Regions from separate parts of the Homo sapiens genome. Here regions 1 and 3 are each linked to region 2. The links are contacts of gene promoters, found by promoter capture Hi-C in blood cells and fetal thymus (Javierre and others, 2016). All regions are on one chromosome and are shown on one strand. Each heading gives the region's core, a stretch centred on a gene start or on the middle of the fragment in contact. The rest is flanking DNA. Distances are from core to core; before and after follow the strand shown.

The links. Contacts are between HindIII fragments. The CHiCAGO score rates a contact against its expected background, and 5 or more counts as called.
Region 1: a contact is called between a fragment that was not itself captured here and the fragment with the promoter of PAK1 in region 2, in 2 of 17 cell types (endothelial precursors and megakaryocytes). The highest score is 6.1, in endothelial precursors.
Region 3: a contact is called between a fragment that was not itself captured here and the fragment with the promoter of PAK1 in region 2, in 3 of 17 cell types (endothelial precursors, M2 macrophages and megakaryocytes). The highest score is 6.2, in endothelial precursors.

The regions. Positions count from the first base shown.
Region 1 is chr11:77,200,610-77,204,581 of GRCh38, reverse strand. It overlaps MYO7A (myosin VIIA), which reads right to left. Exons shown (of 49, transcript NM_000260.4): 36 at 2,944-3,134; 37 at 2,158-2,282; 38 at 1,365-1,522; 39 at 353-506. Among named protein-coding and RNA genes, the nearest start is that of MYO7A, 74 kb to the right of the region's middle. The HindIII fragment of the contact is 1,023 bases long and covers 797-1,819 here.
Region 2 is chr11:77,471,246-77,475,704 of GRCh38, reverse strand. It overlaps PAK1 (p21 (RAC1) activated kinase 1), which reads left to right and starts at 1,611. Exons shown (of 15, transcript NM_002576.5): 1 at 1,611-2,153. RefSeq lists silencers at 1,377-1,736, 1,967-2,016, 2,037-2,346 and an enhancer at 1,587-2,503. The HindIII fragment of the contact is 2,576 bases long and covers 897-3,472 here.
Region 3 is chr11:77,139,316-77,143,811 of GRCh38, reverse strand. MYO7A (myosin VIIA) reads right to left here. Exons shown (of 49, transcript NM_000260.4): 3 at 990-1,103. Among named protein-coding and RNA genes, the nearest start is that of MYO7A, 13 kb to the right of the region's middle. RefSeq lists an enhancer at 3,236-3,802. The HindIII fragment of the contact is 1,906 bases long and covers 2,249-4,154 here.

The sequences.
Region 1 (3,972 bases), core at 59-2,558, 270 kb after region 2:
CAGCCTGCACCAGGGAGGGGACACTTGACTGAGCTGGACCTGCAGGCAGACAGCAGGGTCTAGGCAGGGAAGGGGCATCCAGACGAGGCTCCAGCCAAACGTTAGGAGGAGCTGGGGCTGTTACCCTTAGAGGACAGACTCAAAGGAAGACATCCACCACCTCCCAGTTCCTGCTAGGCCCTCCTTGGGCGTTGGGGCCAAGCTAGGATGTGAGGGGGCCCATGAGCAGCTCCCGGCTCTGTGTGAGGAAGGACTGCATCCAGGCAGAGCCAGCAGCTGCCTCAGGAGGGTAAGAGCTGCCCGTCACAGCAGGTGAGGTCTGCCCCTCATCCGCCCACTGTGCCTGGCTCACCTGATGTGGTTGTCGGTCAGCTGCTTCAGGATCTGCACATATGCCTCGTCCTTCAGGGGCTCGGCTTTCAGGGGACCCTCAAAGATCTGGTCGGTGAGCTCGTTGACGGAGCGTGTCCTCTTGGACGGGTAGTCGCCCATGTACTTGAGCACAGCTGGGGACTGTCAAGGAAGGGCTTGTGCCGAATAGAGGGAGCACTGGCCTGGGGTCCGGAGGCCCCACTTCCCACAGGGCCTGCATCACCTGAAGCTGTGACCCTGGGCCCTCAGGCTGCACACTCACAAAATGGGCATGATCTGCCCCACCCTCTCTCCGCCTCCTCACAGTCACCAGCCCCACATCCCAAGCCCTCACAGCAGCTGGGATGGACTTCCCAGATGGTGAATCTGACCATGCCACCCCCTGCCCAGTGGTTCACCCTGGCCTTAGGACACGGCCCAAGCTTCCTCACAGGGCTTGGGAACCCTGCCTAAGCCCAGTCTTCCCATCCTGTCTGTGCTGAAGCCCCGGAGCCCTGGAACAGCCCTGCTCTGTGTGCCTCGGGGCCTTGCTGCTGCTCCCTCTCTCTGGAACACTCCCCCTCCCTCCCCTTTGCCTGGCTAAGTCGTACTTAGCCTTCAGGGCTCAGCCTAGATACCACTTCCTCCAGGAAGTCCTCTCTGCCCCCTCCAGGTCACATGGGTCAGGTCACAGTGCTGCCGGGTCCCATCTCAACATTGATCTGGATGTGTGTATGGTCCCATGAGGCCAGGGGCTGGGCTGGTCCCTGCTCTACCTGCATGCCTGGCCCAGCACAAGGCACCAAATCCACCTGGCACCCAAATGACAGGGTCAGAGAAAACAGTGGGCGAGGCAGCCCCTTGCATATCAAAAGGTGCAAGGGAGGGGGTACTCCATCAACCCTCCCCATGTGTGCCCGGGTCGCAGCAGGCCCTCAGGAGGAAGGCAGTGTGCAGACGAAGGCCCTGCCCGGTCCCTGGCTCCCCTGGGCACAGCCCAGTGGCACGGATATCAATGAAGGCCAGGCAGGCCTCCTGCGAGAGCTCCTCACTGCCCAGGAGCTTCTTGAGCAGCGCCTGCTTGAGCGGTTCCCGCGTGTGGCTCCACAGCCGGTCCTTGCCTCGGGCCTTGGACACCATGACACGGCTCAGCGTGTGCTTGGGTGGGGGCCTGCCGCAGCACAGGGACCGTCAGCAACGCCCCATCGCTGGCAGCCCCGGGGAGAAACCCCCAGGTTGTGAGACCCCCACCCCCACCCATCCCTGTGTCCAGAGGCTGAGAGTGGGCACCAGGCCCTGCTCTTCCCTGCCCTGCATGTGACCCGAGGCGAGTCACTGGCAGTCACTGGGCCTTTCTTTCTCAGCTGTGAAACCCCAGCGGCGAGAACACCACGGGCTGTGCCCCAGCCTCCCCCACCACCCTGCGCCCCCTGTAGAGCTCAGTGCACAACGCCTCCATCAGGAAGCTTCTCACTGCCCCCCACCCCCCGCCCCAGAAGCATCCTCATCACAGTGCTGGGCACGCCGAATCCCAGCTGCCTGCTTCCAGCCCGCATCCCCACCAGGACTCAGTCTCGAATGCCCAGCCTGGGGTGGGTGCAGTGACATCTCTTGAAGGAAGGAAGATAAGATGAGACACATAGGACGGGTCATCCTGGCAGACAGAAACAGCCCTCCAGCTCCCTCTGACCCAGGCCCTGCTCACAGGTGGGGGCTTCACAAAGCAGCCCCAGCACACGACCAGACAGTAGCGGAAGCCTGCAGCTCCTAGCCCTGTGGCTCCCATCCTTCCCCAGGAGGCATCACCTGAAGTAGTCATAGGAAAACTCCTCCAGCGTGTAGGGCTTGGCACGCACCTCGGGCTCCGCCGTTCGCAGCTGCAAGAGCCGGACAACGTCCTGCCTCTGATCGGGAGTCATGGTGACCAGGGCCTAGGGACCAAGAGACAGGGGGCTCAGGTCAGCTCTCTACCTGTGGCCACCAGGATCAACATGGTATACCCTGAAGCCTTCTGGACTCTGGGAGACTCTTCAGGGGTATGGACCCCATGCCCCATTCTGACCCTGGGAGCCCCGTTCCTCCTTGGGGTCTCTGAGGTCCCTGCTGCCTCCTTTGTGCTGAGCTCAGGGCCCTTCCCCAGGTGTCTGATCAGGTTGGGTCAGTCAGAAAGCCTGGACAAGGCAGCGGGACATGGTATGAGAGCTGCCTCGTCCACTGAGCCTGGCTCAGGAGCCACTAGGGAAGCTGGGCTGTGAGTCCTCAGAGCTGCTCTCAAGGGGGCTCCAGAAGAAGCAGGGCCCCCTTCCCAGCTGTGCCCCCACTGCCTGTTCAGACAGTGCGGGTGATACACCTCTCTCCAATCCCCACCCCCGGCCCCACCCCTTGGCAGTTCCTCATCTGATGCCATTTCTAGGCCCCTCCCCACCTGGCACAGGTTTGAGCACTGCCCCAACTTTAAATGTGTGTCCCATAAGATCCCAAGATCATCTTCACAGATGCACTAGACCGTTAACCTATTGTACAGCTGTGGGAAGTGGACAAAGAGGGGTCTAATGGCACCTCCCACCCATCTGCCACCCCCAGGCCACATACCACAATCTCCCGCGGTGGCATGGTGACAGTGGGCATGACGTACACACTGTCGGTGGGGAAGTCCCCACGCTGCTTGGTCCTCTCATTGATGCCGTTGGCCCAGCCCGAGTTCATGACCTGCTCGCCCGTGTCATGGTCCAGGATGATGAGGTCTCCCTTGGCAAAGCTGAGGAAGCCTGACTCCTCGCCTGCTGTAGAGCAGAGGTGAGTGGGACCATGGGGGCAGAGACAGGCTGAGTTGGAACATCTTCCCACAGAAGAACTGAGGTGTTATCACTCATGTCTGCCCACTTGCCACTCTGCCTCCACCTTGTCACAACTCTCCATACAGAGACCATCACCAGAGTGGGCTACTCTCCTGCTCAAAAGCCTTCCACGGCTCCTCATTGCCCTTGGGAGGAAGCCCCACACTCCTGGGCCTGTTGTGAGCGGGCCTCCCAGACTCCTTCCACCTCGCCTCTCCTCCCTCACTGTGCCTGTTCCCAGCCAAACCAAGCTGTTCGCAGTTCCCTGGACAGGCCAGCTTTCTCCCGCCTCTGTGCTGGCATCACGCTTAGCTCTCTGCCCCCTGTGCTCTGGTCACACGGGCTTCCTCCCTGGACCCCAGTCGGCATGGGGCCTCTCCTCTGGGCTCCTGTGGCTCTGGGCTTCCCTGCTCACTGCACTGTCACAGGCCTGTCACTGTCTTCTTCCCACCCCCCTCCCCACTGAGGACAGGGTGGGGTCCATTTCATCTTTGTCTTTCCCACACTTGGCCAGGGCCTCGGTAGCCTCAGGCAGAGTAGTTGTTACTGCTGTTATCACTTGAAGATGGTGGGTCTTTTGGGAACACTGAGGAGGACCCTGATCTAACTTGGAGAGCTGACAGGAGATGAGTATTGAAGAGCCAGAAGAAGGGAGGGAGAAGAGGTTCCCCACAGGCTACAGATTAAAGGCACAGGCTTCTGCTATTTGGTCTAGCTTCAGGGGAAAGATGGGAACAAGATCCTAGCAGCCTTGAGTGCCAAGGCCAAGGCCACGGGGCATGGT
Region 2 (4,459 bases), core at 362-2,861:
AGAAATATTAGTCAAATGAATATGAATATGAATATGAATGACATTTGAGCTCAGCTTTGTACAATGAATAGGTGTTGGCCAGTCAGCTAAGTAGGGAAGAGCTTGAAGACATGAAGAAATGTGTATTCAAATAACGTTAATATTTCAGTGTGCTTGGAGCAAAAAATAAATGATGTGAGACAAAGCTAGAAAGGCTAGTGTAAGCAGTCAGGTAATAAAGTGCCAAGTTCAGGAGTTTGAACTTTATCCTGAAAGCAATAAAATCCTTTCGGTGTTTAAACGGGAGGACATCATCAGATTTGTGCTTTTATAAGGCTACTCAGGTAACTAGTGAGAAAAATAGATTGAGTTTGAAGAGACTAAAGGTTGCTCCAGTTGTTCAGGTGGTGGTAGTAGAAGACGACACAGGCAAGGACTTGAAAAATATTTAGGAGAAGCTACAAGACTTGGTGTCCAACTTGATATGGATGTTGAGAGAGGAAGAACGGGGAGCTATTAGTATGTCTAGGTTCCTGGCTTAGGGGATTGTTGAATGGGTGGCCCATTCATTGAGAACGGAAAGGAACGTAAGAAGCAATTTTGGGGGGGAAATAATAATAATAGCCAACATTCTAAAGGGCTTGTTACTATTACCATGGTAAAACTGAGGCTTAGGAAGACCTAGTTAAGGTACTACTTATTATTACAGAAAAATTACGGCTTAGAAATGTCAAGGTCCTATCACTAATATTTGAATAGCTAGGATTTCAAGCAAGGCAACCTGATTCCGGACTCTTAGCCTTTCTAATGCTGTCTCAGTTTCGCACATGTTGAATCTGAGGTACGAAGAGTATGCAGGTAATGCTGCTCGGGAGGTATTGGGAAATACACAATCTGAGCTCAGGAGAAAGAAAGCTTTGGGTCGAAAGTACCCTCCACGGTAGGGGAAAAAACGTGAAAGGAAGCCCATTCTTTTCGTATGTCAGTTCACATTAGTTCAAACATCTCCGTTATAATTTCTTTGTCTTCCTCCCACCCCTGCCCCCTCTCCCACAGAAAGAAAACATAATACATGTCTGGCTGTGAGATCACACGACATCGGATAGTTTTCAAATTCAGCCCTTGACAACGAGCTCATAGATGCGGTGGTGCTTTGTTAACCTGAAAAGGACCCTCAGCGCCGGAAGTTAGCCGTCTTTCTCCATCCTGACTACTACAGTAGCCCTCCCAGAAATCGTCCCAAAATTGTCTGATAGAAAGGCTGCACGGAAACAACCCGCCACGGACAGCGGACCGAGAACAGTGACGCGACGCGATGACGTCACGCAGCAAGCGGGTGATTCCCCAGCCTCTGGCGTCACGCGCCGATGACGTAATCCCAGGCGTTCGCCCTCATGCGGGCCAGGGTTTGGCCTCGCTCCCACGGGTCGGTCAGGCCCTCCCCGCCCCCTCTCACCTGCGGGAGGCGGGGCGGGCACGGCTCCACCGGAGCCGCAGCCGCCGCCGCCGCGCCGGGGAGGGGGAGTGGGGGAGGGGGAGGGGGAGAAGGGGAAAGGGCAGAGGGGAGGAGGAGGCGGGAGGAGGAGGAGTAGGGGAGCCAGTGAACTAGGCGGTCAGGCCTGCCGGGCGGCGTACAATAGCGCGGCTGTGGGCGGGGGAGGCTGCCCTCCCGCGGCTGCAGCCGGAGCCGAAGGTGGTGGCTGCACAGTAGACGCCCCCTCACGGCTTCCCCCACACGCTCCCGCCCCCTCGCTCGCCCATCGCGCTTCCCTCACAGGCTCTGCAGTCCTCCCCCACAGACGCCTTCCCCCTTGGACTCTCATTCCCTTTTCCACGGAGCCCCGCGCTTTCGTGAGCCCCCTCGAGGAACCTGGTCTCCGCATCCAGTTACCACCTCCTGCCTCAGAGGCCATCTGAGCCCTTCGCACCTCGCCCCTCAGTCCCCCCTTCCCCCCCCGCCCGCGTCGCCTCGCTCCCTCCCGCCCCCCCATCATCCCTTCCCTCGCAGTTCCCCTGTCCTGAGGGGAGCCCCGCCACGGGCAGCGCGGCGGCGGCGGCAGGAGGGAGAAAGTGAAGCGGTAGCTCGCGCACACTCGCGCCCTCACTCCCGGCTAGGCGGCACCCACCGCCGGGAGGAGGAGGAGGAGCCGAGAGGAGCTGAGCGAGCGCGGAAGGTGAGAGCGGGCCTACCGCCCAGTACCCCTCGCGTCCCGGGCTGCCAGGGCTGGGGCGCGGGGGTGGGGACGGGTGGAGTGGGGGTCTGGGCCCATTTATTTCGCGTTGCGGGGCCGGGCGCCTGGGCGGGAGGAGGCGCCAGGTAAGGTGAGGCGGGCGGCGCCCCGCGAGGCCCGCTCCCGTCGGGCCAACAAAGGCCCCCTGTGCGCGTACCGGCGGGGTCGCGGGTCTCAGACGCCGGGCGATTCGAGAGACCTGGGAGAGGGAAGGGGCGGGGCGGGGCCAGGCCAGGCTGGAGCCGGGAGGCCACACGAGTACCGGTCCGGGACCGAGTCCGTCCCGAACTTCGCAGTCCTGCGGCGCTCACCCTGTCCCGCTACGAGGAGGCACAGCAAAGCGGCGCCCAGTTCCTTCTGCATGGAATAAATGACCCCTTCCAGGCTTGGACAGTCACCTTTAGGGTTCTACTCCCTGAAAAATAAGGGCTGGTAGGACTTGACTTACGCAGCCCCTCCCCCACCCCGGAATATTCTGTAACTTGGGAAGTGAAAAACAACCGGGGAAGGAGATTTATAGTTATTTTATGTTCATTATTACGTTTGAAAAGACATGATTGTTGTAGCCTTCGCTATCCTATTTCAGCAGTACACATTACTGGGAGTGTTTTGGAAGAATACTTGAGAAGTAGTGGGTGTGGCGTTGTGAGCAACGTCCTTGGTTTTTAAACCCCTTGGATAATTGTTCTACTGTTACAAAAACTGTGAACAGTGAAGGGAAGGGTTAGTTCCGTGGTTACTAATAAAAATTCAGATTCATTAGTCTTGACTTTAAGAATTGTTCCTGAGAACAATCTTTAATTTTGCCTCCTACATTTTTGGGTTCTCTTTCAACTCTGTCAGGAGAAAGTAGGAATTATCAGTACAGATACCTCATCTCTCTTACCCTGTGGCTTCATCTACTTCTTGTGTGACCTTGAGCAGGTCACTTCCAGCCTTAAAAGCTCCAGAAGTTTGGTTTTATGCCCCAAAACGGGCAAGTAGCAAGCACCGGACTCAGCTTTCAAGAGTCCACTGAAGAATTCCCACACTGTGAAGTCTTTGCTGGCCTCCATCCTGTCTCTCCTCTTACAGACAGAGCTGATTTCTTCCCATTGGCCCGGTGGGATTTCTACCACAGCACTTACAACATTTTGGTTCCTATTTGGAAAATTCTAAGTCAGGTGCATATAAAAACTCCCCACCTCAACTAGAAACTATGCCTTTCAAAAAGGGTTTTGGGAACATTGACCCTGAAAACTTCCCATACTTTCCCTGAAGCTTATCCATACTCTTTAACTACATGAGCTCATGGGTCTACCTTGGTAAATTTGCTTATTCAGTCAATTCGTTTATCCAACATTACTGGAGTTCGGAGAGCTACTATGTTTCAGGCCTCTTGCTAAGGCTATGGGGATTCAGTCTATTAAGATATTCCCTGTCTTCAAAGAGCTCAAAGTCTAATGGGTGAGGTAGACAAGTAAACAATGAAGGTCTGCCCTAATCTCTGGGGGACTCCAGTTGTACAGGTAGTAGTGTGCAATAATTGAGGCTGCTGGACCTGTTTTACAAGTCTTCTCTTGGCCAAAGTGAGTCCTGCAGGGAAGGTGACCTGCCTCATCCATAACAGGGCATTTGGTAAAAAGCTTGTTCAGTTCAATTCAATATACATTTACTAAGCACATGTTTTGAGTCCCTGTGCTAGGTTTGAAGGAAGCAGTGCCTCAAAGGAAGGTACTGTGCATCCAGAAAGATTTCTGTAAAACAAAACCTTACCACATCAGCGCCCCCTACCCCTGACTCTTCATATTCTGAAGATAAATTTCAGAGTAACATGGAATAAAAAGCTCTCAGGGATCAGACCACTGCCTGCCTTTGCAGTCTCACTTTCTGTGGCTCCCCTGCCACTCTCATCTTCACTCTTGCATGTTCTGTTTTCTTCCTGGAATGCTTCCCTTCCACCCCTTACCTGCCTGTGGAGATGACCTTGTTGGGCCTCTGGGATGCAGTCCCTTAGTCTCTCCTTTTCCTGCATAGAATGAGTTGCTCTTCCATCCTCTGGCTCATGTACATACCACTTTTATGGCCTTCTGTAGCGCTCTGTTGCAATTACTTGAGTTTGTGCCTGTCTTTTTTTGGTAGCCTGTGAATTTCTTTTCTTTAATAAGCCCTTTAAATGATTCTGATGCTTGCTAAAGTTTGAGAACCACTGGGTTAAAAGATCTGCTCTTAATAAAAACCAGCACCCTGCCAGCTCCTGCTGTCCCGTT
Region 3 (4,496 bases), core at 1,952-4,451, 330 kb after region 2:
CCTGCACCCTCTTTCTCCTGACTCTCCTCCCTCAGACCAGGAGGCTAAGAGGGACTCAGTCCAATTCTGTGTCCCAGCCCCTGGCACACCGCAGGGCACAGCCCACATTATGGCAGAGCTGAATCTCCCTGGATTCTTCATATCCCTGCTAAGCTGCCCCTGTGTGCTCTGCACCCCATCTGCATACCCCCAGTGACACACACATGTGCACGCATGCTCAGAGGCCCCAGGGCTTCCCCTCCGGGCCCTCACGTGAACCAGCCACCTTCTCCGGGGCAGGCCCCTGACTTCAGACCTCTCCTTCCCTCCCCAAGGCCCCACTATCATTACCTAGAAAACTTACACTTCTGGGGTCCCTTTCCTTCTGGGCCACAGATAAAGGGTTAATCTGTGAGACCAATTTCCAGAGCAGTGTCAAGGTGGACAGTGGATTCATGTGATGTCAGTAACCCAACACAGTGAGGCTGTGGACGTTCATTTAACTTTCAGACTAGCACTAACTTCACTGAGGTGTTCTGCACGTGTGATCTCATGTATGGGTCAACAGCCCTGTGAGATACGTATTATTATCCTCATTTTACAAAGAGGAAACTGAGGGTCAGGAGGGAAGGAGACTAGGCCAAGTTTGCGCAGCTAACAAATGGACGAGATAGGATTTGAATGCAGTCTGCCCCCAAAGCACCTCTGTGTCTGAGGAGCTCCTAGCCTGCTCCCCCTGCACTCAAACCCCACCACACACACACACATCTCTAACACCATGCAGAGTGGACTGAAGTGCTTGTGGAAACAGAACAAGTAGCCTGAGGCAGGCAGGGGTTCCCTCTTGTTGGGGTGCTGGGGAAAGCTCATGGAAGGGGGCATCTGAGAGGCAGAAGTGGGGGCATGGGCATGGCCTCCATCTCCTTTCGATCATCTCCCTGCATCAAGGCAGCTGTCAGCCCAGGTCTGACCCCAAGGCATGGGGCAGGAGGAGGGAGGGGACTACTCACATTGTCTTCATCATCCACCACCTGGACCTGCCCAGAGTCGCAGAGCTTCACCACCGCCCCGATGGGCACGTCGAACTCCTGCCCCAATCTCAGGTCCATCCACACATGGTCCCCCTATGGGCGAGAGAGAGTCTCAGCCCAGGTGAGCAGGGAGGGGGATTGGAGCCCCTTCCAGGCAGCCCTATATCCCTCTGCTACAATCAGAGGCTCTGAGCCAACCACACAAGGGGGAAGAGAAGGGGACTCACACTTACTAGCAACCTTCTGGAGCAGTGCAGGCCCTGGGCTGGGCATTTATGCAATCTCATCAATCCCCCCTCTAGAACAGCCATATTCCCATTTTATGGATGACTTAGCAGAGGCTCAGAGAGAGCCAAGGCCTCTCAAAGCCCAGCTCTCCCCATGGATCTACACCCTACATGTGTATGACAGATTCACTGGGGTCTAGACAGAAACACCAGACCACTCAAACCACTTCCTCTCTAACATGACACCACAGGACACCCAGACAGTGGGTGAATGCTGCAGCCTCCTTCACCTCCAGGGCTGATTTTTATCATCATTATGACAGGTTCCTCACAGGGACACCACTCCGTGCTGGGCACTAGAGAAGGGTTCAGCCACATTGTCTTCTGGCATGTGGAGAGAGCCCTGATCCTGGGGGAGGATGTCGCTTTGTGTCCCCTGCGGCATCTGGCCCAGGGCCTGACTCGCACTACTCATTCAGCAAGGGATCGTGAGAGCCAAACGTAAAATCCCAAGTCAGAGAAATGGACTAAGAACAACCACATTCAGCACTGATGGATTCAACAAACATGTATTGATTACCTACTGAGTGCAAAGCACTGATTAATCTAAATGCTGGGGGTTGAGCAGTGATTATGGAGTCTACGTTCTAGTTAGAGGTGGTGACAAAAAACTGAGCAAATAGATCAGCACGATCACTTTGGATACTGGTGAGTGCTGTCAAGGAAACAAACAAGCCAATGGTGGAGAATGACAGAGCCAACCAACCTAGACCCAGTAGCCAATGGAGCCGCTCCATGGAGGGAATCGCTGAGCTGACACCTGAAGGGTGACAAGCAGTCAGCCAAGGGAAAAGCAGGGGACAGTAATCCCAGCATAGGAAACAGCACATGCAAAGGCCCTGCGGCAGAAAGGAACAGCCAGGAGGTAGGACCTGATGGGCGAGAGGGAGCTCAGAGAAGTAGGCAGGGTCCAGGACACATAGGCCCTTTGCTGGCCTTGGGATACAAGCTTAGATTTTATTCTAATCCTAATAAAAGTATTCTTTTTTGGGTGGTACTCCAACTCCCTAGGAGTTGGGACATTCTAATAAGAATATAACTTAATATCAAGTAAAAAAAAATGTAACAACTTATAAAACTGATTCACAATGAAGTAAACCGTGGTAATGGTCTGACAGAATCTGTTCTGGGCTAGGAGTCAGAAGACTGGGTTTCAGGCCCTACCCGGCCTTGGGTGAGTCGCTGACCTCTCTGAGCCTCAATTTCCACATTTCTCAGTGAAGGCTGAACTCAGTGAGTCCAAGACCAACTCATTACTGTTTCAGCCTCCTCTTGTTCCCATCAGAACCAGCTACAGTCATGCATTGTTAATGTCAGAGATAAGTTCTATGCAAACATATGAAGTCATCGAGTGTACTTCACAAACCTAGATGGTACAGCCCACTACACACCTAGGCTGGATGGGGTAGCCTCTTGCTCCTACACTACAAACCTGTACAACCTGCTACTGTACTGAATACTATAGGCAGTCATAATCCATAGTGTGTATTTGTGTATGTAAACATATCTAAACATACACATAAAAGGTACAGTAAAATATGGCATTATAGTCTTATGGGACCACTGCCATCTATGTGCTATTTTCCAGCCACAGCTGCCCCTGTGGACCCTCTCTTCATGTGAATGGGAGGTTGGCACATGATAGAGTCAGGCTAGTCCCAAACCCAAACTTCCTCCCAGAAAAAGTAAGAAAAATTGGAGAGGCTTGGGCGTGGAAGAGAACTGTTTACTGAGCATTCACTGTGGGCCTGGGCTCCACAGGCTGCATCCCGTAAACTGCCCCATATAATCCTCACAGCTGCTTGTGTCCAAGCCCCAGCTGCACTCCCTGACCCTGGGCTTACCCCTGACAGCCACCCCACACAGGGTCTGCTCCCCTTCCCCACTGGCCTGGAGCTCCCTAGGGTGGGGCTGGGTCTGAGTCCCTCATCTGTGGCTCCCCAGAGCCCAGCCCAGAGCGGGCCTCGGTGAGAGAGAAGGGGTGGGGAGCGTGTTCGCTTGTGGGCAACAGCATGTGGCCAGGGGACTGTCTCCAATTTCTCTCCTCAAAGAGGTCAAGAAACGTGCCCAAGGTCACACAGCTGTTTTGTGGCAGAGCCAGGACTGAAGCCCAGGTCTGACAAACCCCAAATCCAGGGCTCTTTCCTGACATTCCCTGGGCCCAGTCCCACATGCAGCTCACTGAGCAAAACAGGAAACACTGATAGAGTCCTCCCCCGCCCAGATGGCTCAAGGGCCCTGAAGGCAAGCTGGAGACTTAGGCTGAGGGCAGCTGGAAGGCAGGGGTCTCTCTGAGTCACCTGTATCCCTCAACCCAGCACAGGGCCTGGCACACAGAAAATGTTTGTTTCCCCTGGGAGAAGATAAAATAACCAAAATAAAAAAAACTTCATGTGAGCAGGAAATGGAGATTCCGAGAGGCTGAGTGAAGCTCTTGGGGCCACACAGCAAACAGACATGACTACAACTCTTCTTACTTAGGGCTGTCACAGAGGGCAGTGACCAAACTATCTTGCTCTAGGCCAGACTTGAGGAAACAGTTTCAGATGGCAGGGGAGAGGCTTCAGGGAGAATTCTGGGGTCTTAGGACTTCTGAAGGGGAATATTCCTGTGGCCCTAGGGAAAGTTCTTGAAGCATCGCAAGGCAGGCAGGTTGTAAGGATCCTCATTTTACAGCCGAGGAAACTGAGGGCCAAAGAGAGAAAGGAACCTGGCCACAGTCACTCATCAAATCAGTGACTGACAGGACTATTAGCATCTGGAGGACAGAGCCAGGACCAAAATCAGGGTGGATCAGGAGTCACTGGCTCAGAGGGAGAAGGAAGGGAGGAAGGAAGCCATGAAAGAAGATGAAGCTTCATTGAGAGGCAGGAGGGAGGTGAGAATGGGGAACCAGGCTCCAGGTAGGACCCCACCACCCCCTCCCATCCCCATGGCTAGCCCCAGGCACCCCACCACTGCATCTGGCCCCATTCCTACACCATGTTCCGTGACAACTTTACACACTGTATGGGGCGCCTTGCTTGGTACTCACCTTGAATGGAAGATCTCGTTTGTGACACGACACATGCCTCAGTGTGGCTGTGTAACGTGGGGCAAGTCCCAGCTTTTCTCCTATCAAATATATGACCAGGGCAGAGGGTTTCCCAGGCCCTGCCAGCTATGCAGGCTCCCAGCCCGAGTCGTGCCTTCCTAGAAT